Regions from separate parts of the Homo sapiens genome. Here all the other regions are linked to region 1. Evidence: promoter capture Hi-C in 16 types of primary human blood cells and fetal thymus (Javierre and others, 2016). All regions are on one chromosome and are shown on one strand. The core of a region is centred on a gene start or on the middle of the fragment in contact, and the rest is flanking DNA. Distances in the headings are between cores, read along the strand shown. Region 1 holds the start of TOP1 (DNA topoisomerase I). Region 2 overlaps LOC105372618 (a long non-coding RNA gene). Region 3 has its middle 9.1 kb from the start of CHD6. Region 4 has its middle 51 kb from the start of CHD6.

The links. Contacts are between HindIII fragments. The CHiCAGO score rates a contact against its expected background, and 5 or more counts as called.
Region 2: a contact is called between a fragment that was not itself captured here and the fragment with the promoter of TOP1 in region 1, in 1 of 17 cell types (neutrophils). The highest score is 6.2, in neutrophils.
Region 3: a contact is called between a fragment that was not itself captured here and the fragment with the promoter of TOP1 in region 1, in 1 of 17 cell types (non-activated CD4 T cells). The highest score is 5.5, in non-activated CD4 T cells.
Region 4: a fragment that was not itself captured here is called in contact with the fragment with the promoter of TOP1 in region 1 in 1 of 17 cell types (erythroblasts); the score reaches 5.7 in erythroblasts.

The regions. Positions count from the first base shown.
Region 1 is chr20:41,023,939-41,030,739 of GRCh38, forward strand. TOP1 (DNA topoisomerase I) reads left to right here and starts at 4,884. Exons shown (of 21, transcript NM_003286.4): 1 at 4,884-5,162; 2 at 5,493-5,517. The coding sequence starts at 5,130. LOC100128988 (a long non-coding RNA gene) reads left to right here. Exons shown (of 3, transcript NR_145525.1): 3 at 1-1,458. It also overlaps the pseudogene RNU2-52P. RefSeq lists silencers at 4,583-4,934, 5,155-5,224. The HindIII fragment of the contact is 6,355 bases long and covers 3,935-6,801 here.
Region 2 is chr20:40,455,676-40,462,142 of GRCh38, forward strand. It overlaps LOC105372618 (a long non-coding RNA gene), which reads right to left. Exons shown (of 3, transcript XR_936718.3): 3 at 1-2,549. Among named protein-coding and RNA genes, the nearest start is that of MAFB, 230 kb to the right of the region's middle. The HindIII fragment of the contact is 3,937 bases long and covers 2,968-6,467 here.
Region 3 is chr20:41,624,529-41,630,375 of GRCh38, forward strand. No RefSeq gene overlaps it. Among named protein-coding and RNA genes, the nearest start is that of CHD6, 9.1 kb to the left of the region's middle. The HindIII fragment of the contact is 674 bases long and covers 2,402-3,075 here.
Region 4 is chr20:41,665,950-41,672,132 of GRCh38, forward strand. No RefSeq gene overlaps it. Among named protein-coding and RNA genes, the nearest start is that of CHD6, 51 kb to the left of the region's middle. RefSeq lists an enhancer at 4,166-4,310 and a cis regulatory region at 4,233-4,243. The HindIII fragment of the contact is 1,418 bases long and covers 641-2,058 here.

The DNA of each region.
Region 1 (6,801 bases), core at 3,634-6,133:
AAACAACTGTAGCAGCACATCTGTGTATTTGTGTATCTTGTTCCTCCATAATCTTGCAGTCCGGGGAAAGTGTGCAGATGGATGGGTCCCTGAAAAGCAAGAGTTGTTTAGACAACGCTAGAGGTGTTCAGTTCTGGGAGACAAGAGTTGGGCCAGGTTGATAACTAGCCTAAGAGAGTCGGAATCAGATGAATAAGAACTAGATCTTGGGTGACAACCTAGATCAAGAGTCTTGAGGTTCAGTCATTTCAAAAAGCTCAAGTCTCATTGCTTCTTGGCCTTCTGGCTAAGATCATGTGCAGTATCTGTTCTTACCAGTTTAATATCTGATACATCCTCTATCTGAGGATAATATAATAAATAGATTTTTGGAGCAAGGAGATGGAATAGGAGCTTGCTCTGTCCACTCTACACATTGGCCTGGATTGCAGTACCTCCAGGAATGGTGCACCCTCTCTACCACCCCCAAAAAGCCCAAGTCTCAAGAGGTAGTCTGGAAAAAAGTGTTTTTGGATTTACCTACATTTTTTTTTCCAAGATGGAGTCTCGCTCTGTCACCCAGGCTGGAGTGCAGTGGCGCCATCTTGGCTCACTGTAACCTCTGCCTCCAGGATTCAAGCAGTTCTCCTGCCTCAGTCTCCCAAGTAGCTGGGATTACAGGTGTGTGCCAACCATGCTCAGCTAATTTTTCTATTTTTAGTAGAGACAGGGTTTCACCATGTTGGCCAGGCAGGTCTCAAAGTCCTGACCTCAGGTGATCTGCCTGCCTTGGCCTCCCGAAGTGCTAAGATTACAGGCGTGAGCCACTGCGCCCGGCCTAATTTTTGTAATTTTAGTAGAGACGAGTTTTCACCATGTTGACCAGGCTGGTCTCGAACTCCTGACCTCAGGTGATCCACCCCCGCCCTCGGCCTCCCAAAGTGCTGGCACTACAGGCATGAGCCACCGCTCCTGGCCGGGTTTGCCTACATTTTGGAGATGCTGCACACCATGTCCCTCTTTTCAAGAGTCACGTAAGTATTTACATATGGAAGACCCTGAGAAGGCACCTGGGAAAAAACCTGTTTAACTGTAAATATAATAATGTATGTATTTGTATGTGGAGCTCTTCTTTTAGTGGATTATCTATAAACCGTCCACTGTTCCCAATGCATACTTTGGAGACAGACCTACACTACCAGTTTTCACCTGCTAGTTATTTTTATAAGGGTTGGGATGGTCCATGAGTGAACAGTCTTGATTTAAAGCAGTGTTTCCCAAACCTCATTTATTTGCCTATAGCCTTCCTGGAGTTTGTCTTATATGTCCGCTCTGTGCACTATTCCTATATGTTTTTATGTAAATCAATCACTTTTTTAAAAAGCCTCATCCCAGTTATATCCTTAAAACAATGGTTATTTTTTCTCATACACATCGAAATACATATCTATTAGAATTAAAATGCTTGTCCATGCACTATCAATAATCTCCTCAAGTACCATATGGTGGGGACATGTGTTTGAAGTGTTAGGAGTCAGGAGTGGTCTCTGTAAGACAGAGTAAGTCAGTCAACCTCTGAGCACTGCCAGCCACACATGCTGGCAGAGAAGTTCAGCCTGTGACAAGACTGCCCGGATATTTCCATGTCTGTGCACGGGGATGTCCTCGGTCTGCCATTGTGAAGTCTGTGCTGTTTTCATGCCTACCTAGTCTTCTTTGGAGGGGCCTGGAAAGCAAATGCAGGCTGGGTACAGTGGCTCATGCCTGTAATCCCAGCACTTTGGGAGGCAAAGGTGGGCAGATCACGAGGTCAGGAGTTTGAGACCAGCCTGACCAACATAGTGAAACCTTGTCTCTACTAAAATTGCAAAAATTAGCTGGGTGTGGTGGTACGTGGCTGTAATCCCAGCTACCCGGGAGGCTGAGGCAGGATAATTGCTTGAACCCAGGAGGCGGAGGTTGCAGTAAGCCCAGATGGCACCACTGCACTCCAGCCTGGGTGACAGAGACTCCATCTCAAAAAAAAAAAAAAAAAGAAAAAAAAGCAAATGCAGATTCTCCCTGGGAAACGGGGGGTTGGGAGAGTGGAGTAGTGTGGATGCATTGTTATTCCTGAAGGCCGTCCTCAAATTATCTTGGACTCACTGCAGCAAGCAGATGCCTCATCTTCTGGCCAGGGATTGATCCTGAGATGGGAAGAGTATGAGAAGAGACACCAACAGCAAGGCAAAACTGGCTCTGGCAGCTTGCTTCAGAGAAAGAGTATAGCTTTGGAGTCAGGCCGACCTGAGTATGAATCCAAGACTCAGCACTTACTAGGTGCCTGCCCTCAAACCATTATTTTTTGATAGTCATTACATACCCACAATGATCACCATGGAGTGGATGAGGAAACAGGGACTCAGAGAAGTTAAACAACTTGCCTGATATCACACAGGTAACAAACAGCAGAGCAGAATTCAAACCTAAGTTGATTTGACTTCCAAATGTGTGCTCCTAACCAAAGCAGGGTAACCTGCTTTGATTTGCCCATTTCTTGAGCACCTCTTCTGTAGGAGGGCCTGTTGCTGGGTGCTGGGAATTCAGTGGTAGGCAAGATGGACAAGATTCCCCCCTCTCACAGACCTTGCTTGCTATAGGGGAAATAGACAGGAAACCAATTACTACATTTGTAACTTAATAACAAGTGTCATAAGTGTTACAAAGGAGATAGATACTATAAGGCACCTTTTATTTTTATTTGTTTATTTATTTTTTGAGACTCACTCGCTCTGTTGCCCAGGCTGGGGTACAGTGGTGCGGTCTCGGCTCACTGCAACCTCTGCCTCCCAGGTTCAAGCGATTCTCCTGCCTCAGCCTCCCGAGTAGCTGGGATTACAGGTGTGAACCACCACACTCTGCTAATTTTTGTATTTTTAGTAGAGACAGGGTTTCACCATGTTGGCCAGGCTGTTGTTGAACTCCTGACCTCAAGTGATTGATCCACATTGACCTCCCAAAGTGCTGTGATTACAGGCGTTAGCCACCGCGCCTGGCCTATAAGGCACCCTTGGTCAGCCAGTGGAAGCAGGGTCAGTAGTGCGCCGGAGAGTCACTTTGAAAAAGTGATATTTAGGTTGATCTTGAAGCATTCACAAGATGTGGTAAACACATCTAATGGTAAACATGTGATGGTAAACATTAGATGTGATAAAGATACTGATGGTCCACTGGATGAACAGTTTTCATATTTACTTCCAAATGATTTCATAGATATTATTTCACAGATAACACTTAGGATGAAGGTAAATAAAAAGGAGATCAATTAAAATATGAAATAATAATAGTGAAAGTGGTAATAGATGTGGCAATATCCACAAAGGAGTAATGGTTAGATTAGCATATTGAGAAGATCACTTTGGCAATTGTTGGAATGCAGTTTACGAGAGGGCCAAGAATGGAAGCAGCAATCCCTGTTAGAAGTGTAGTGTTTTGGAGTGCGGTGTTTTTTGTTGGTTTGTTTTTTGTTTTTTTTAAACCAGGTCTCACTCTGTTGCCCAGGCTGGAGTGCAGTGCAGCCTCGACCTCCTCCTCGGGCTCAGGTGATCCTCCCACCTCAGCCTCCCGAGTAGCCGGGACTACAGGCACATGCCACCACACCCCGCCAGTTTTTGTATTTTTTTGTAGAGTCAGGGTTCTGCCATGTTGCCCAGGCTGGTCTTGAACTCCTGGGTTCAAGTGATCTGCCAGCCTCGGCCTCCCAAAGTGCTAAGATTACAAGTGTGAGACACCACCCCCAGCCAGCACATTGTATTAATCCAAGCAGGAGAACGCAGACTTCAAAGGCTTATGGGCAGCAGAGAGAAGTAGATGAAGCAAAGAGATGCAATCAGCGGGACTAGTGGGAAATGAGGGAAAGGAAGGTGTCAGGATGGGGCTTTTTCTAGCTGAGTGGAGTTCAGTTCATTCCCAGAGAAGCTTGAGAGGTATCCAACTATAGATGCAAGGTAGCTGGCTGTTGGTCCCTTGTCTTTAGGACAGTTTGACTTTTGTAATACAGGCGACCTCACAGAGCTATTGTGAGAATTCAGAGCTGGGCACAGAATAGATGCTCTATAAACGGTAGTTCTATTCCCCATTTGCCCCGTCCTCCCAGCATGCCAGGGATACAGGGGCGGATAGAGACAGGTTCAGTTCCCTTTGGTCTCTTGCATTCCCCCTTCCCTCAGCACAATTCCTGGGCTCATAGCGGATGCTCAATAAGTATTTGTAGAATGAACCAAAGAAATCAGACCCTTGGTGACCCAGGGCTACATGTACTCGGCGGAAAACTGGGGTTAAACCGGACCCTTGGTTGGTTGAAAAATTAAAATAATTTTTAAAAAGTGGGCGTGAAATAATCCAGAAGTTGGAGGGCCTGGACAAAGGCTGGGGAGGGGACTCCTCCCACCAGGCGGCCTCAGGGTCGGCTTAGCAAGAAAGGAGGCGCTGGGGAGACCTCTGGGGTCCCAGCTGCCAAGGTACTCGCCGCTCCAAGGAGATGCGGACGCCGGATACCAGCTCTGCCCAAGATTGCTGGGTCCCGCCGCGGCCTTTAAAGGCCCACCACGTGGCTGCGCGGCCAGCCCTGGTCCGGAGGCGGTGCCCGGGTGGCGCCTGCGCACTGCCTAGCAGAGGGGCTGGGGTTCCGAGAAAAAGCGTCTGGAGAGGAAGGGGAGGCTGCTTGGGGTGGGACGCCGTGGGAGGAGTCGGCTCCTTATGCAAATCACAGCGGAGCGCGCACGGTCCGGAGGCGGGGCTTGCGATGCAAAGACAGGTCCGTCTGGCGAACAGCGAGGGGGCGGGCCGCAACCCTCTGCCTCTTTCCGCGAGCGCTGACGTCGCCGACGTGTTGTTTAAAAGCGGCCGCGCAGGCGCAGTGAGCCCAAATGCGAACTTAGGCTGTTACACAACTGCTGGGGTCTGTTCTCGCCGCCCGCCCGGCAGTCAGGCAGCGTCGCCGCCGTGGTAGCAGCCTCAGCCGTTTCTGGAGTCTCGGGCCCACAGTCACCGCCGCTTACCTGCGCCTCCTCGAGCCTCCGGAGTCCCCGTCCGCCCGCACAGGCCGGTTCGCCGTCTGCGTCTCCCCCACGCCGCCTCGCCTGCCGCCGCGCTCGTCCCTCCGGGCCGACATGAGTGGGGACCACCTCCACAACGATTCCCAGGTACGGCCCGGCCTGACCCTGGCGGCCCCGGACCCCGGCCTGGCCGTCCCGCGACCCCCGGCGCAGGCCCCGACCCCAGCCCCGGCCCGGCAGCTTTGACAGGCCGGAGCCCCCGGTGAGGGGCCGCCTGCCGGAGTAGATCGGCTCGCTAGGCCGCGAGCGAGGGCCGCGAAGTTACAGTTCGAGGCAGGGATGGCTGCCCTCTGTGGCCACCCCCGGGTCCCCGTCCTCCCCGGGGGCGCAGGGTGAGCCAGACCCCGGCCGCGCGCGCTCGCCGCCGGAGGGGTTAAAGTGGCTGTTGTTTGATATTCTCTCCTTTTCTTTTTCCAGATCGAAGCGGATTTCCGATTGAATGGTGAGTGTGCCCCCTGCGCCGACTCCGGGGCCCCCCAGCCGCCGGCCGCCTCCCCCGCGCCCTGCCGGTGCCGGGCAGAGGACAGACATGGCGTCCCAGAGACTAAGTCCCGGCTCCTCGCTCACCGGCCCCATTGTTCCCATCGGGCCGCCTCTTGACCCCCTTTCCGGGGACCCCAGCTCCTCCAGATCCCGGCCCTCCCAAGAGGGGACAACGGAGACCCCGTGTCGTCCGCCACCGGGCCTCGGGCGGTCTTTCCGGGCCGGGATTCCTCCCGGGAAAGTCGCCTTGTCGACGGTCGGGACTTAGTCTCTGCGCCATTTTCTTTTTCTCTCTCCTCTCCTTTCTGTGCCTGTGTCTCTTTCTCTCCCTCCCTCGGCTCTTTCCTTGAGCTGCCCAGAATGAGCTTTCTGCAGAGCAAAGCCGTATAAATCACATACTTCACCAGAGAGGGAAGGCTGGGGGACTGAATTATTATTTTTTAAACTTTATTTTGGGGGTTATTCCCTTTATGCTTCATGTTTGTTTCCTTTTCTGCTTCCAGAATGAAAGATTTCCTTAAGCAACTGTTAATTTTTTTTTTGATAGGCTGTTTATGATAGGAATTATGGCTCTAAAACTAAAGCCACGCTTTGTGGAGTTCTTTATATTTCCAGGTTGTTTTTCCCAAGTTACGTTCTTTGCAAAGGTAGCAGTACCTCCCTAAAGAAAGTTTGCAAGTTCTCTGTGGGTCACCCAATGTAAATGTTGGATTTTTAAAAAATTATGTTAGTCACTGGAACTTTTCATTGTGGTCGAGGTTCCCAATGCAGTGTTTTTCTGGAAACGCAGTTTAGTGTACTTGTTGGAAGGAAAGATTGTTGAGCATCTCTTGTGGACCTGGTGTGTTGGCCTTTTCGTTTGGGTTGTAAGGAGGAAAAAAAGATTTTATTTATTGAAGCAAAGAGTGTCCAGTACCCACCCCTGCTTCCTGTTCATTCTTTTTCACGAGCCACTGTTTTTCAGGAATCAAGAACTGGCTTTTTTTTTTTTTCCCAATTCTTTATGTTTTTGAACCCTTTTCAGCCAAATCAAGGCATTTATTCTTACTGTATTTCCACTTCAGTTACCCAGGGAAGAGTCCTCCAATAAAAAGCTCATCCTTGCAGGCTTTCGAACAACCCTGTTGAAGGAGAAGTTACCTTCTGTAGTGTGCTGGGAATTCCCACTGATTTTGATGGTACATAATCCTGCTCAATTGAGTTTGGGTTCCGGGAACCTCTCCAATGGGAGAAGTTGATGAGT
Region 2 (6,467 bases), core at 3,686-6,185, 570 kb before region 1:
CTGGGCTTGCTGATGGACTTAAGTCTTTGGGCAGTTTTACAGACAAAGCAGCCAAAACGAAAAAAGAAAAAAAAGTAAAAGAAAAGATAAAAAGAGGATACCTTTCTCCAAAAGGTGGTCAGTAGAGAAGGGTGTATTTGTTCAGGACTTTCAAGTTCTTTATGAAGTGAGAGACTTTGCTCATTTGTTAATTGATGCATTCATTCACCCGAAACATCTTTATGAAGCATGAGCCGCAGAGTTGGACTCACAGAATAAGAAGAAGTATCAAAACATTGCTCCTGTTTCCAGGAACCCACAGTCTGGAAAGGCATGGGTGGGGGTGTTTAAAAAGGAAAGAGAGTCACATAACCCATTGTGTGGTTTAGAAAGCCCATTCTGTGAAATAAGCAAGTGGTAGAACCAACATATATTGCAAAACCATTTATTTGAATACAAACAAAACACATCCAAAGTAATGCTATATAAATATGTAAACATATAAAGACATCAACTAAATATGTTATCACATTTATGATTCTGGTTGCCTTTGGGGAAGGAAAAAGAATTAGAAGAATTAGAATGCAGGTGACTTCCCGTTTATCTTTAAAAATGTCTTTCTTAAAAAGAAGGTTCAAAATAAACACAACACAAAAAAAACACACATTGTATGACTGTATTTTTGTAAAGTTCACAAATAGGCAAACTAATCTATGCTATTGGACTCAGGATAGTGGTTACCTGTGATCAGGTAGGGTGGGGGAATAACAAGAAATGGGCAAAAGGAGAGGCGGGTAATGTTCCTTTTCTTTTTGTGGTACAGTTATATGACTGTTCACTTTGTGAACATTCAACAGATGTACATTAAGATATATGTACTTTTCCATATGGGTGTTATTTCAATAAAGATAGATTAGATAGATAGATAGATAGATAGACGATAGATGATAGATAGATAGATAGATAGATAGATAGATAGATAGATGATAGATAGATAATAGAAAGAATAGAGGAAAAGCATCTGTTGATTTGGAGTAGCAAATATATGGATATTAGCTATAATATCTCTGCACTTTTCTATATTTTTAAATGTTTTTTCCTAATTATGTAAATAATAAAAACATAGAAAAGACAACTCTAGCTGCCCTATAGAGAAGTTAGAGAGTGGAGTAGGCAGACCAGCTAGGAAGTTATTGCAGGAGCTCAAGTTAGAAAAGATGGGACTGGAGGGCCAGGTACGGTGGCTCACACCTGTAATCCCAGCACTTTGGGAGGCCAAGGTGGGCAGATCACGAGGTCAGGAGATCGAGACCATCCTGGCTAATACGGTGAAACCCCATCTCTACTAAAAATACAAAAATTAGCTGGCTGTGGTGGCGGGCGCCTGTAATCCCAACTACTCAGGAGGCTGAGGGAGGAGGATCGCTTGAACCCAGGAGGCGGAGGTTGCAAGTGAGCCGAGATTGCGCCATTGCACTCCAGCCTGGCAACAGAGCAAGACTCCATCTCAAAAAAAAAAAAAGCAGGGGAGAAGATAATGGTGAATTTACAAGGTCTGGTGACCATGGGTTATCCCTTCGGTTGCTCTGTGGACTTTGAGCAATCCATCTGTGTGATTAACCCCACACACCAAGGTCTCAGTCACCCTTGAACATGGGAAGAACCCCTCATCATCTGCAGGGTGAGATGTGTTTTGCCCTGAAATCCCCTTCCCCAGTGCCTCCCCTTAGCCTGCCCTCCTCTGATCCTGAACCCCCAGCCAAGGACTCCCCCAGAGCCCTTTAATTGGCTTAAACACTAGACAGGAGATTCCCTGGCAGGGGTAATCCATGATTGAACTAGGGATAATCAGCATGATTCATTTGTCTGATTAAAAGCTCTCACTCCCCATTATCACCTACCTGAGAGGAAGCCACACAGGGCTCTGACAGCAGGTAGGCAAAGGCTCAGGGCCTGACACTGTGGCGGGGTGGGGAGGGGGGCAGAGTAGAAAGTGATTGAATGACACAGGGCACAAAGCTCACAGCAGCACTTGTCCAAAAGGAACTATAGAAACAAAGGAATGGGAAGGCCGGTACTCACAACATGGAAAATATCCACCTGGTGGGGCTCTGTGGGACCATGCACATCCCGCAGAAATGCCTGTGATTTGGGGACGTTTTTCCTTTGATCCTCATAGATAAAGGGTTTCTGCTTCCCCGCCTCAGAAAGGAGCAGTTTGTGTCTGAGCACTTGCTATTCCTCTCTTCATTCCCTCACTCCTTCCATTCTGTGAGAGGAGAAATGATTGGTCTGACTGGTGAGTGAAAAGAGTTTTCCATTCACTGCACCATATTTGCCAGGGCAGAGTTGCCATTCTGAATCATGAGGTTTCCTCTCAATCTCTCTGTCCTCTATTCTTTTGGACATTGCTATTCTCAGAGGGAGCCCACTTTTTGGCATCCTCTATGTGGTCAGGTCATGAGGGCAGCTACCTGCCTTTTGCAGACCAAAAGGGCCTGTGTTCTCTTTGCTTCACTTTCTTCGCATGCAACAGGTTGAAGAAACTCAGCCATCCTAGTACTAGAGGCCTGGGGAGAGAAAAAGCAAACCCCCTTTTGCCGAATGTTCCCTGTAATAGATTGTATTATTGTTCCTATTCTTTATGTCTTCCTGTACCTTTATCTTCTGCCTGTGCCTTTGGCATACTCCCCACCAAAGGAGGGGTATATTTACCTGCAGGTCAGTTGACATAGTCTGGGCTTTAATCCATGCTACAGGTTGGGTCCACCTCTGCCTCACACATCTCTCCGTCTCCACAGATCAGTGGGCCAGTTCCATGCAGGCTCTTCCCATGGAAATGGTAGGAGAGCAGAAGCTTATGAGTGGAGACATGAGTTTGTTCATAGGATTTGCTTTGGCCAAAGTAATGTGGGTAGAAGTAACTATGTGAACTGTGTGCTGGATTCAAGCCTGGGTATTAGAAGACATCACATGTCTCCACTCACAAGCTTCTGCTCTGCTTCTGCCATTTCCATGGGAAGAGCCCGCATAAACTGGCCCACTGATCTGTGGAGAAGGAGAGATGTGTGAGGCAGAATTGGACCCAACCTGTAGCATGGATTCAAGTCCAGCCTATGTCAACTGACCTGCAGGTAGATAAGTGAGAATAAACGCTGCTTCAGGACACTGGGTTTTGGTGTGATTCCTTGTGCAGCATTATTGTAACAAGAGCTAGCTGATACACCCCATCATCCCTGGTTCTCCAGGTCAGTAAAGAAAACTATCACTCTAGGTTATAATGCTAATATTTTGCCCAGTTTGGCTGAATGCTTTGGGTTTTTACTTTATCGATCAAGCCGATGGAGAAAAGTTTCAATAAGTGGGAGGAGTAGAGCACAAAGTCTAGGGTAATCATATGTCCCAATGGGCCTGGATGGCCCTAATTTATACCTGTTATGCCAATATAATTAATAATAGCACCCTTCTGTCCAAAAGTACATCCTGGTTTGGATGATTAAATTATATCACCCTAGCCAAGCCCAACAAGATCCAGCCTAAACCATGTCTTCCTTACACTAACAATGGGCACCCCTTTGTGGTCAGTAGATACCCCAGAATTTTTTAAAAAGCCATGTCCTGGAAGGCAGGAGGCCTGGACAGCAATTCTCATGGCAGCAGGTGAGGTAAAAATAATACTTTTCCTAAATGCAGTCTATCTGCACAAGATTTTATAAAAGTGCTATGGGGTATTTTCTGAGAAATAAACTCCTTAATATGACTTCATGGTAAGAGTTCTATTTCCTTTATTCTCAGGAGTCCTAGGGAAGAAAAATATGCCCCCTGGCAGTGTTCCATAAAACTAATGATGTGGGGGAATACGTGAATAATTGCCTGAATCGCCGGGTTACATATCTGTTAGGAAATCTCTTGGCAATATAAAGAAGGGGCTCAGGACAGTTAAATTGAAGTCAAGTGAAATAAACTCCTGCTGCATCAGCTCGATGATCTTGTGGGTCAAGGGAGCTGTGGCAGCCCTCTCTGCACTTTGGGAATGTTGGGCCTCCAAGTTTTCTGGGTTCAGAGCAACAGGGACATAGGATGAGGAGTAGAAGGAAGGAATAAACAGGCATGGACCAGACATTGCAGGGATGCAAAGGGAAGTTCTGGAGCCAAGTCTTCAAAGCTACAGATCAAAAACTCGGGCAAGGAGCAGTGGCTCATGCCTGTAATCTCAGCGCTTTGGAAGGCCAAGGTAGATGGATCACTTGAGGCCAGGAGTTCAAGACCAACCTGGCCAACATGGTGAAACCTCATCTCTCTGAAATTCAAAAATTAGCTGGGTGTGGTGGTGGGTGCCTGTAATCCTAGCTACTTGGGAGGCTGAGGCATGAAAATCCTTTGAACCCAGGAGGCAGAGGTTGCAATGAGCCAAGATCATGCCACTGCACTCCAGCCTGGGTGACAGAGCAAGACTGTCAAAAAAAAAGGGAGGGAGAGAGATAGGGAGGGAAGAAGGAAGGAAGGAAGGAAGGAAGGAAGGAAGGAAGGAAGGAAGGAAGGAAGGAAGGAAGGAAGGAAGGAAGGAAGAAAGGATGAAGGAAGGAAGGAAGGAGAGAAGGAAGGAAGGAAGGAAGGAAGGAAGGAAGGAAGGAAGGAAGGAAGGAAGGAAGGAAGGAAGGAAGGAAAGATTACTGGTGAGTGGTCAGATAGATGGATGGATGAATGAATGAATTCTAAGTGTGGGGTTATTCCTTGTGCAATATTGATATTGTACTTCATAATATTATACTTCCAAAATTATTAGAGTAAAAGGAAATGATTCAAAAAGCAAGGAAAGGTTCAGTGTGCTGAAAAATACAGTAAGCCCAATTCCTTTCTCACCCACCCCACTCTCAGCCACGGAAAGAGGACTGATACTACAGCATCAGAGACCATCCAAGACAATACAGTTGTCCCTCAGTATCCTCAGGGGATTGGTTCCAGAACACCCTGTGGAAACCAAAATCTGCAGATGCTCAAGTCTCTAATATAAAATGGTATAGTATTTGCATAGAACCTATGCACATCTTCCCATATACTTTAAATCCTCTCTAGATTACTTATACCTAATACAAGGTAAATGCTATCTAAATAGTTGTTATACTGTATTGTTTGGAGAATAATAAGAAGGAAAAATGTCTACACATGTTTAGTACAGATGCAACCATCCTTTTTTAAATTTGTTTTCAATATTTTTGATCCACAGTTGGTTGAATCCACAGATGTGAAACTTATGGATATAGAGAGTTTTATGTTTTTTGAGAGAGAGATGGGGTCTCACTATCAAAAGCCTGGGGTTGCCCAGGCTGCTCTTGAACTGCTGGGCTCAAGCAATTCTTCCACCTCGCAATCCCAAAGTGCTGGAATTACAGACGTGTGCCACTGCACCTGGTCCAACTGTGTTTTAAATTATTCTTCCAGGGTAATATAGAAATTTGGATAAAATTCTTGAATTTGAACAAAGTAGACACCAGTTTGCACAATGCAGGACATCAATCCATCCATGCCCTTTGTCTCCAGATATCTGGTGTGGATGTGCATTCATGTCAACACAACTTTTTAAATTGCATTTTTTCCTCCTTCTCACTCATGTGTCTTCAGAGTAAACTGAAGAATTATTTCAGTGGAGCCATAAACCTCTCGGTCTCCCAAGACATACATATGGACTCCATGTCAATTTTCTCTCCCACACTGCACCTGAACTATTTCAAACTATCTTCCCAGTTGACCAAACCAGAAACCTCAGAGTCGCCCACTACTCTGACCTCTCTCTAACCCCCAACCCGTTAGTCTTTCTCTCATAAATCTCTCTGGTTCTTCCAGCCCACAGCCTGTCCACTCTCATCCAGGTCTCCACCACATCTCCCCTGGGTTGTAGGAGAAGCTCTTAGCTGCCTCTTGGCCTGGGCTCTCTCCTTTAAATCCATCCTATACCTAGAAACCAGAGGGATTTTTCCAAAACAGAAATTTGACCTCCCTGGTCCCCTGGCAACCCATCAATGGCTTCATGCTGTCTTTAAATTAAATCTGAACCCCATGTGAGGCTCTGCACAATTCGGCCTCTGCTTGTTCTTCCAGCCTCATCTCACCACTCCCTGCTTCTCACCCGAGGCCTAGCAGCAGCCTCCATTTCTCTGGCTCCTTGTTTTCTGTCACTTTCAATCATTAGACCTCCTCTTCTAGTTCCTGGAACTCAATTGCTCACTCCATCTCAATCCTTTTTTTACCTAAGCACGATTCTTTCACTCCACAGGTTTTGCTGAAGTATCCTACCATATTCTGCAAGAGAGTATCTCAACATCCTCCTAGCTTAACACTTAACAACATAGTATTATGTTAGCTTGATCAACTCACTCTCCTCCCCTTGTCTGAAAGATCAAAAAAGGCAGCCCCAGGCCAATCGTGTTTGTGTTCCTAGCACCTAGGCCAATTCCTGACTTAAAGTAGGTATTAGAAAAAACTTTTTG
Region 3 (5,847 bases), core at 1,489-3,988, 600 kb after region 1:
CCTTGTGTGGACATATGTTGTCATTTCTCTTGGGTAGATGCCTAAGGAGACTGGTGTTTAAAACTGAATTCGTTCACTGAAAAGACATTTATTGAGTGCCTATTACTGACAAGTATTGTGCTAGATGCCAAGGATACAGTAGTGAATAAAATTTGACACAAACTCAGCCCTCATGGAGCTTGCAGTCTATAGAAGAGAAAGGCATTAGTCCAGTAGTCATGCGAACAAACGTAACATCACAGCAGTGGTAAGTGTGTGCTATAAAGGAGGGGTATAAGATGCTGTGAGAGATTATGCTAGAAGGATCTGCCTTTGTCAAGGAGGTCAGGAAAGCTGCCCTTGAGCTGAGTTCTGAAGTGTGTGAGAATGTAGTCACTCTGATTTCTGTCTTTCAAAGTAATATCTTAAGAAGCCATATACTTATTTCCAATAATGCTGCCCTTGCAAACATGTCTGAGCCAGTTTATAGACACACTGGTCTTGGGCCTATTTGTGCTTAGATAAAGTCTCTGTGTTTTAATCTCTCAGAGTTTTTGAAAACTGTGAAGCAAGCACAACGCACTGTCAGTAAAGGTACCTTTTCAGTCATCTCTCTCTCTCTCTTTTTTTTTTTCTTCAGAGACAGGATCTTGCTGTGTTGCCCAGGCCGGTCTCAAACTCCTAGACTCAAGCAATCCTTCTGCCTTGGCCTCCCCACACACTGGGATTACAGGCATGAGTCACTGCTCCCGGCCCATCTCTTATATTATTTTCTGTATGTTTGAAATATTTCATGATTAAACATCTTAAAAATATCCTTTTTAGTTCCCTTGAGAATTGTACCTGCCAAGCAGCCCAGCCTGTCTTGTCAGACCCTGACCTTGTTCTCTCTCTGTGGGAAGAGGAGACATGATCAGAAGGTGATTTCTGGAACCTGGAACTGAGGGGATGATGCTAATAGCCAGTATTCTGGAACTACACTGGTCCAATCCCTGTATCTCTACTGTAGGGGTGAATCTGCCACAAGGCATCCTCCTGCCAGAAGCTCCATTCTCCAGCACAAAGCTGGATAAGACTAGTTAAGCCCACAGGCTTTGAAGCCCTACAGATGTGGTTCAAATCTCAGCTCTACCACTAGTGTCCTTAAGAAAGTCACTTAACAGGCCAGGCATGGTGGCTCATGCCTGTAATCACAGCACTTTAGGAGGCTGAGGTGGGTGGAACACCCGAGGTCAGGAGTTTGAGACCAGCCTGGCCAACATGGTGAAACCCTGTCTCTACTAAAAATGGAAAAATTAGCTGGGCTTGGTGGCACACACCACTGTAATCCCAGCTACTCAGGAGGCTGAGGCAGGAGAATTGCTTGAACCTGCGAGATGGAGGTTGCAGTGAGCCAAGATTGTGCCACTGCATGCCAACCTGGGTGACAGAGTGAGACTCCATCTCAAAAAAAAGAAAAAAAAAGAAAGTCACTTAACTTACAGTTTCATGATTCCAATAATAGGGTTGTTGTGTGGATTAAATGATTCATGCAAAGTGCTTTGCACATGGCAACTGCTCAACAAATTGGTTATTAATATATAATTATCGCAGCCTTTCCTCTGCCTCCCATTTCCCCGTGTTCTGTATAGACTTTCCCCCTTTGTCGACCTGCAGGTTTTGAAACATATTAATTCCATTGATTTAACTGAAGTCAATCTCTGTTCTTGTGTTTGGCTTGGGGAACCTTCTGTCTTTTGGAGTGCCTTCTACTGATATATGGCCTCTACCCCTCATGTATTAATCTCACTGATTTAACTCTTACAGTGCCACAGAGCTCTCACTCTCACCCATGTATAGCACTACCGCTATTTTGATTTTTTAAATCCAAGGTTATATATAAAAATGACTGTGGTCCCTTTCAGTTACTATGATTTATGGAAAATCACACCTCAAATGTTCTTGGGCAGGATTTTTCAAAAACGCTGGTCACGCTACCCTGAAACAGCTTCGTAAATCCTTCATTCTTGCTCAGCAGTGTACTTTCCTGCAATGACCATTAGACAGTTTCAGCCATAAAAACTTGCTTAAGGCCGGGCGCTGTGGCTCATGCCTGTAATCCCAGCACTTTGGGAGGCCAAGGCGGGTGGATCACTTGAGGTCAGGAGTTCGAGACCAGCCTGGCCAACATGGTGAAACCCTGTCTCTACTAAAAATACAAAAATTAGCTGGGCATGGTGGTGTGCGCCTGTAACCCCAGCTGCTTGGGAGGCTGAGGCAGGAGAATCACCTAAACCTGGGAGGCGGAGGTTGCAGTGAGCTGAGATAGCACCATTGCACTCCAACCTGGGCAATAGAGCAACGCTCTGTCTCCAAAAACAAACAAACAAACAAACAAAAAAAAAAAAAAACAAAAAAAACCACAGCAACAAAAAAGTTCTTAAGCTTTTTACTAAGCCTCAAGTTGCTGTAGAATCCTTTTCTTTATGTGTGCAATTCTACCATCAACATTACTGACCAATTTGGTGAGGCTACCGTCTGAAAACTGGTAATAAAAATAAGCAACACAGTTTTACATACTAGAAACAAAAAACTATAGTTTTAAAAAATTAATTAGTTTCCATGTTTTTGCTGAGGTGAAGCATGGTAACTGTCCTTCCAGTTGGCCCCCAGTGATACTCACTTGCTGTGATTCAAACCCTTATACTGCCCTCTCCTGTACTGAATAGACCTGATTTATGTATGTAACCAGTAGGATATTGCAGAAGTGACAGAGTGTAACTTCCAATGCTAGTCATAAATGGCATTGCAGCATCTGTCTTGCTGTTTTGGGTAATTTGCAATGGGAAGAGTCCATTGTCATGACATGAGGACATTCAGTCAGCCTTATGGAAAAAGTCTTTGTGGCAAGAACTCAAGGCCTCTTGTCAGGAACCATGTGAATGGGCCATCTTGGAAGTAGATCCTCCATGCCTAGTCAAGCCTTCAGATGAGACTGCATCCATCCCCAGCCAACATTTTGACTGCAACCTCATGAAAACCTAAGTCACTCTCAAATTTCTGACCTATGAAAACTATGTGAGATAATAAATGTTTATTGTTGTTTTTAAGCCACCAAGCTTTGGAGATAATTTGTAATGCAGCAATAGATAACAGTATTTCCTTGGGTGATACAACTGACAGCCATCATTAAGTTACTGTATATTTAAAATGTGCTTTGTATAAATTTGCCCCACATTTTAAGTGTTTTCTTAACATATGATCTACATCCAGATATTTTAGGTTATTCTATGACTCATTTCAGTCCCATTCAGCAAACATGCTGTATTAGTCTGTTCTCACACTGCTATAAAGAACTACCTGAGACTGGGTAATTTAGCAAGAAAAGAGGTTTAATTGACTCACATTACTGCAGGCTGGACAGGAAGCATGATTGGGGAGGCCTCAGGAAACTTACAATCATGGTGGACGGGCAAAGGAGAAACAAGCACATATTCACGTGGCGGCAGGAGAGAGAGAGAGAAAGAGAGAGAAAGAGAAAGGGGAAGTGCTACACACTTTTAAACAACCAGATCTCATGGGAACTCATTCACTATCATGAGAACAAAAAGGAGGAAATCTGCCCCCATGAGTCAATCACCTCCCACCAGGTCCTTCCCCTAACATTGGGAATTACAATTCAACATGAGATTTGGTTGAGGACACAGAGCCAAACCGTATCACTTGCATTGCCTACTTGTATCAAAGCCTGTTCGTAACAGAAAACTCCAGATCAACCATCAGCAATTTGAACGAAACTGATGGCAGTAAGTTGTTTTTCTCCATCCAATTCCATTTATTGTGAATGATTCTTATGCTTTCATGATTGTAGTTAAATCTCTGGATGCCAGGAAGTCCAGCTCCTACCACTTCTTTTGCTTCTTTTTGGAATATATGCCAGAAGGGAATAAAGTTGAAGAGAATGATGCCCCCATGTTACTAAAACATGCACTGTTACATTGACAGTTCATAATAGCTAATTTTATTGCATAATTAATATGAACTAAGCACTGCTTTTAAAATTTTTAAAAATAATTTCAATTTTTATTTTAGATTCAGTGGGTACATGTGCAGGTTTGTTACATGTGAATATTGTGTGATGCTGAGGTTTGGGGTGTGAATGATCCCGTCACCCAGGTGGTAAGTATAGCACACAATAGGAGTTTTTTCAGTCCTTCCCTCCTTCCTCCCTCCCACCACTAGTAGTCCCCAGTGTCTATTGTTCCCATCTTTATGTCCATTTGTACCCAATGCTTAGCTCCCACTTATAAGTGAGAACATTTGGTATTTGGTTTTCTGTTCCTACATTAGTTAGCTTAGGATAATGACCTCCAATTACATCCATGTTGCTGCAAAGGACATGATTTTATTCTTTGTTATGGCTAGATAGTATTCTATGGTGTATATGTACCACATTTCATTATCCAATCCACCATGGATGGCCATCTAGGTTATTCTATGTCTTTGCTCTTGTGAATAGTGCAGTGACGAATGTATGAGTGCACATGTCTTTTTGGTAGGATGACTTATTTTTTGGGGGGTATACACCCAGTAGTAGAATTGCTGGATTGAATGGTAGTTTTGAGTTATTTGAGAAATCTCTAAACTGCTTTCCACAGTGGCTAGACTAATTTACATTCCCACCAACAGTGTATAGGTATTCCCTTTTCTCTGAAGCCTCGCCAGCATCTATTATTTTCTGACTTTCTAATAATAGCCATTCTAAGTGGTGTAAGATGGTATTTCATTGTGGTTTTGATTTGTGTCTTGATGATTAGTGATGTCGAGGTTTTTTTTTAATATATGTTTGTTGGCCACTCATATTTCTTCTTTTGAGAAATCTTTGTTCATGTTCTTTGCCTACTTTCTTTATTTTTTGGAGGCAGGATTTCATTCTTTTGCCTAGGCTGGAGTGCAGTGGTGCGATCATGGCTCACTGCAGCCTCAACCTCCTGGGCTCAAGCAATCTTACATTAGCCTCCCGAGTAGGTAGGACTACAGGCATATGCCACCACATTGTAGTTTTTTGTAGAGATGGGGTTTCACAATGTTGCCTAGGCTGGTCTCAAACTTCTGGGCTTAAGTGATCTGCCTGCCTTGGTCTCCCAAAGTGCTGGGATTATAGGCCTGAGCCACTGTGCCTGGCCCTTTGCCTACTTTTTAATGGGGTTGTTTGTTTTTGCTTTCTTGATTTGTCTAAGTTCCTTACAGATTCTGGATATTAGACCTGTTTTAGATGCATAGTTTGCAAATATTTTCTCCCATTCTGTAGGTTGTCTGTTTACTTTGTTGAAAGTTTGTTTTGCTGTGTGAAAGCTGTTTAGTTTAATTAGGTCCCACTTGTCAATTTTTGTTTTTGTTGTGATTGCTTTTGAGGACCTAATCATAAATTATTTTCCAAGGCCAATGTCCAGAATGGTATGTCCTAGGTATTCTTCTAGGATTTACTTATAGTTTGAGGTTTTACATTTAAATATTTAATCTATCTTGAGTTAATTTTTGTATATGGTTAAAAAGTATGGGTCCAGTTTCATTCTTCTGCTCATGGCTAGCCAGCTATCCCAGCACCATTTATTGAATAGGAAGTCTTTTCCTCATTGCTTATGTTTGTCAGCTTTGTCAAAGATCAGATGGCTGTAGCTGTGTGGCTTTAATTCTGGGTTCTCTATTCTGTTCTGTTGGGCTGTGTGTCTGTTTTTGTACCAGTACCATGTTGTTTTGGTTACTGTAGCCTTATGGTATAGCTTAATATTGGGTAATGTGATGCCTCTGGCTTTGTTCCAAGCACTGTTTTAAATGCTTTACATGTATAAAATATTTAATTCTTACAAAGAAAAAGTTATTACCCTC
Region 4 (6,183 bases), core at 100-2,599, 640 kb after region 1:
CATCTGGGGCAGAATTACCTAGGGGCATAGATTATTTACATTTTCAGTTTTATCAATGGATTTTAGTATAGGTTCCTTTTGTTTTGTTTTAGTTTTTAGAGGTATGTACTTGCTCTGTTACTCAGGCTGGGGTACAGGGGCACTATGATAGCTCACTGTAGCCTCAAACTCCTGGGCTCAAGGGATCTTCCTGGCCCAGCCTCCCAAGCACCTAGGACTGCAGGTGCTTGCCATTATGCCCGGCTGATTTTTTAAAACATGTTTTGTAGAGACAGGGTCTCTTTGTGTTACCCAGGCTGGTCTTGAACTCCTGGCTTCAAGAGATCCTGCCACCTCGGCCTCCCAAATTGCTGGGATTACAGGCATGAGCTACTGCATCTAGCCTATATAGGTTTCTTAGAATCAATTTTAGGAGCTTATATTTTTATGGGATACCATTCATTTTAGGTAAATGTTCAGGTATATTAACATCAATTTTAACATAAAATTTTCAAATAGCTTAATTATTCTTAATATGTGGAGATAAAGACCCTACTCCTGAGCCCTGGCATTGTGTTACTTGTGATTTATTTCTTAATTTTTGCTTATGCTTAACAGTAGTTTTTCCTTTTCTTCTTCATTTTCGTCTTTTTAAAGAAGAAGCTTAGTTTTATTTATCAAGTCTGGTTATTTTGACATCTTAGCTTTTATCTTTAATAATTCCTTTCTCCTAAAATATCGATGGTCTACCCTCATACTTATTGATAGCTTTGCTAAGAGAATTCTAGTTCAAATTTTTTTACAAAGAAATAAAAAAGTCATTGCTCTATTATAATAAGAAATGAGATAAAATTGTTCATATCAACAATGTGTTACATACCCAGCGCTGTTGAGTGTGTGAGTAAAAGCCACTTTCAGACACCACTACTGAGAATGCATGTTGGTACAACCATCTGGCAGGCAATTTGACAATATGTATGAACACTTAAAATGGGTATACATTTGAACAAAAAATTGTACTTCTAGCAATTTACACTTGGGAAATTAACTAGATCAGCAAACAAAGATGTATTTACAAGGATAGCCTTTAGAGTATTATTTCTAGTGGTTAAAATTGGGAGATGGATTGAATAAATGATGGCATAGCCATATAATAAAATACTACACAGTCATGAAAAAGAATGTGATAGGTGATGTTTTAAGTTGATATCAAACAGCTGGTTAAACCACAGAAAATATGATTCCATTTATGTAATTATATTACATATAATCTGGAAGTGTGAAGTGTGGCTATTTCTGGAGACAGGCAGTAGATCTTTAACATTCACCATTTTGTGTCATTCTTTCAATAAATATGCCTTATCAGAAAAAAATAATTTTCAGGAAAGAATTCCAGCTGCTTACACATTCTGGATTATATACCATAAGGATTTATTACATGCTATGCTGGGTAGCAGAAGCGATGAGGAAAGGGAGGGTTAGTAGGGTTCTACACTTGGATGGTGAAGAGAAGGTAATGTTTTTGCCTAGAGAACGTAGAGGATTGATGAAAGTTTCTTCCCCCTCACCAGGTAGTAGACACTTCAAGAGATAGGGGAGGAGTCCCCTGGAAACCGAACAAGGGCTGGGTGTCGTGGCTCACACCTGTAATCCCAGCACTTTGGGAGGAAGAGGCAGGTGGATCATGAGGTCCGGAGTTGGAGACCAGCCTGGCCTAAATGGCGAAACCCTGTCTGTACTAAAAATACAAAAATTAGCCGGGTGTGGTGGCGCATGCCTGTAGTCCCAGCTACTCAGGAGGCTGAGGCAGGAGAATCCCCTGAACCTGGGAGGCAGAGGTTGCAGTGAGCCAAGATTGCACGCTGTACTCCAGCCTGAGCGACAGCGTGAAACTGTGTCTCAAACAAAACAAAACAAAACAAAACAAAACCATAAAAAACCAAAAACAAAAAAAACCAACAAGGAGGCAGGACTCTTACTGTGCCCCAAGTTGTCTAGACCTTTTGGGTTTCCTCCAACCCTGAGATCCTGCCTCAGCTTGCTTGCTACGTGTCCTCAACATCTGTCACAAGTGTCCTAAGCTTCTGCCCTTTGAGTCACCCACAATTCCTAAATGTACCTTGCATCTTTGTATCTGTCTGCTTTTCCTGATGTGGTCCTTCCTAAGGAACAGAATATTCCACTTCTCTAGAGAAGAACAAATACCCCTTGGTTCTTCAAGATCTGGTTCATGGTAGATTAGATTATTATTCAGCAAATATTCACTGTTTCTCACTACATATCCATGGAGGAATGTTCTTCCTTTCATCTTGACTTTGAGCTTCTCCATGTGACTTACTTTGGCCAATGGGATGTTAGTACACATGATGTGAGCAAAGGCTTAAAATGTGCTTGCATGTTGGGCTTAGTCTCTTGCATGCCTATTTTTTGCCATGATGACCAGGTAGCCACAGGTACAAGGAGGCCCCAAATGCATGGAACAGACTTGAGCCAAATACATGGCCTGGAGTGCAGCCTGTATAAGCCTAGACAAAGTCAGAGTCAATGCATAGCAAACCTCCAGTCACCTGGATGAGAAACTTACAAATATGTATTGTTCAACACTGAGGTTGCTGCAGTGTTTGTTATGCAGCAGTAGCTGCCAGATGCATAGCTTTCAAGGTCTCTTGCCCTTTATTCTCTGAGTTCTCCCCCCCAAATCCCACCTATAGTACAACTGCTTAAAAGCTGTTATTATACTATATTATGATTATCTGATTGATGTGCTTGTATCCCACATTAGATTATGAACTTCCAAGTGGACGTAAATGTTCTGGGAGAACTTTGAGGAGCTAAAAAACACCTGCCTTGACACTTGTCTTACAGCTAAAAATTGTGATTATTGAGCAAGTTACACCAAGATCTGTGAGCATATATTGCAGCAAGTGAAAAACATAATGCTTGTTTTCATGTTGTCTTTGGGTAATAAAGAGGGGCCAGTCCATTCAACCTATCTTAAATGAGGTAAAAGAATATGGGTGGGCACCATGGCCCACGAATTCTACCCTAGGAGAGGAGTAAAAGAGGCCCAGACACCTCCTTTCTTTGAAGCAGTGAAGTGTTCTAAAAATTACAGGACATCTGAAGCTGTTTAGATATTTTAAAAAAGGAGAAGTCTCAACCAACAGAGACTGAAGGCGGTGTAGGTGAGTGTTCAACGTTGCTTGGTACTGTCTGGGTAAAGAACAAATGGGTGGTGGAATGATCTTTGATCACATTCTGTCTCATAGTACTTAAAAACTTCCATTTTATTTTTGATTTTAAAAATACCAAATACTAAAATTGAGCCCATAAAAAGGACGGAGTCGCCCATGATTCTGGAAAGGCTCTAAATCGCCAAGGTGTGGTCCAAGGTCATTACTAGGCTTGGCACATGTGTTGATGAACAAATTGAGAGATACATTAATATTGAAGTTTGCAGAAAGGGGATTAGGTCCTTAAGAAACCACTTGATCTGCAGAGATATTCAGAATGTGAATGTCTTCAGGGACCCTGGAAAAACACATGACCCCATTTTAAATCTGAAATTGTATGATCTCAAAGAAGTCCAGTTACATGTATGACATTGCTGTAAAAAGTGTTTTTCCAAATATACCTGCAATAAGTCTTAAAAATGTCTGTACCCTTTGACTTAACAATGCCATATCTAGGGAGTACAGCAGCCTGAAGGAATTAATCAGATATGTAGATAGAGATCTAAAGTAATGTTGATTACACGGTTATTTATAATAGCAGAAAACAGTGAACGTGTTAGTACAAACTATATTGAGAAACGTGAGTTTCTGTGGGCACTGCCAAATTTGCTGTGTCATCTGTCTTCAGAGACATAGACCAATTTAATTTAAAGAGGCCAGGACTGGGAGAAGGGATAGGCAGAGGGAAAGGAAGATGTGGTGAGAGACAGAGGAAGGAAGGGACAAGGAGGGAGGCAGGAATGGAGTCAGGGAGAGATGGAGAAAGAAACAAAAACAGAGACAGGGACAGAGACTGTTGAGTGGTATGTGATGAATCAATGTCTGTGCAATAAAGATTCAAAAGGGAGAAAGAGTCAGAGACAAGAGTGGATTCAAAGGCAGGTCCCCCACTCCCTGTTTTCGTTAGAACTCACCGGCCCTGGAGCACCCACTGTTAGGACCCAGGCCACACGGAGGGGACAGCTAGCAGCAGGGCTGTGGAGTGGGAGGGCAGGCAGGAGCAGGGCTATCAGCACAGGCTGCTGAGTCACCAGTGGTCGGGGAGAAGGGAGGAAGTCCCAGGCTATGCTGGCTCTGTTATGGGCTGGGGGAGCAGGGAAGGGGCTCAGGTCATAGGTAGGGGGAAGGATGCTGGATGCTGTGTTCTAAGCCCCGAATTATGGCATTATGGGTGTGGAATTCACTTTCTAATTGCATTACCCACCTTCCATTAACTCCTGTGTTTGCTGTGGGATCCTGTTAATGGATAATCATTAGGAAATCCTGTTTTAGGGTTATAGATGCCTTTGGATAGTTTCTTAGGATGATTTGAGAACTTACCCCTCAGTAATTATTTCAAGTTGATTATTTGCATGCATAATCCAGATCTCAGGGGACATATTTTATTCTTTTCAACCTCTTGGTGGATTGGTGTGTGAGGGGGGTGGGAGTGGGTGGGTGTGGCATGCTCATGGTGGATAATGTCCTTCGGTGGCTCAGAGTTTCTGCTGCCACGGACTGAGTTCAGTTCGGTGGCTCAGAGTTTCTGCTGCCACGGACTGAGTTCAGTTGGAGGATTGCTTTGCTTTTCCATCCCGCTCTTCTGTTCTGCACTGCAGCATCCCAAGCAGCCTTTTCATTGGATACCCTTGCCCCAAACCTCACACCCACACAGTCTGTGTGAGCAGCAGCCTTGCTGAAGGCTCGGTGCAACAGACAGCTTTCACACCCTGCCCAGCCCTTCTCCACCACACACTCCCAGCTCCCTCCTCTCCTTACCACTCCAGGTTCCCTTCAGAGGCCCAGTTCTCTGCCTTGAATTTAAAGAAGCAGTTGAAGTCTCCATCCTTTCCTCACCTCGGAGTCTACCTTGTTACACTCACAGCATCCTTAACGTGACTGATAAACAAAGGGCTACCTGGTTTTTCAATTTTTTAGTAGCAATGAACCAGCAAGGACTCTGAAATAGGAGGCTGTCTTAGGTTGAGTTTTTGGAAGCAGACTCTGAGAAGAGGATTCCTATAAAAATTATTTATTTAAGAAGTGTTCCTAGAAAAAACCAGTTGGGAGTGGGCGGGAAAGTGGGACCAGGAGAGAAAGAAGGCCAGGCAAAGGAACGGCAGCAGGCAGAGTCCGGGGAGGGCTGCTTTGGCTCAGTCTCTCCTGGGAACTCAGCAGACACCTTCCAGTTACCCCCACCAGGGAGCAAGAGCTGGAGGATTGTATTCGTATGTTTGTCAGTCACTTGTTAAGGGCTGTCCCAGGGGTATGTTAATTTCCAGGCTCTTCACCAAGAGATGCAGGTGCAGGCTGTTGGGTGTGAAGGCGCATGGGAAGCTGGTGGACACAGTAAATGGTCCAGGGATCTAAAGGGGCTATGGGCGAGGCACCAACAGTGTCTGCCGTAAGTCTTTCCTTCTTCCCTCCCTTACTCAACTTCATGAGTGGAAAGACAGTTGTGTGAACAATTTCCTCACTGATGTGGGTTCTGCCACTCTGTAGAAAACAAAAGCAGCTTGGTCAGGTGAGGTGGCGCACATCTGTAATCCCAGCACTCTGTGGGGCTGAGGTGGGAGGATTGCTTGATGCGAGGAGTTCAAGACAAGCCTGAGCAACATAGGGAGAGCCCATCTCTACAAAAAGTAGAAAAAAAAAATAAATTATCCTGGTGTTGTGGTGAGCACCTGTGGTCCTAGCTACTTGGGAGGCTGTGGCAGGAGGATTGCTTGAGTCCAGGAGGTGGAGGCTGCATTGAGCTACGATAGTGCTACTGCACTCCAGCCTGGAAAAGAGAGAGACCTGTCTCTAAAAAAAAAAAAAAGCAACAGCTATACTGGAGCTGGCTTGCTTACTCAGGAGGACAAGAGCTACTCCAGGCCCTTCTCCCATTTTCTGACTCCTGTCTGGCATGACTTATCTCTCAGGATGACTGCAGCTTGGGCATCAGAAGAAAGGGGTGAGCATTCACATCAAATCAGGGGTCCGTTCCTCA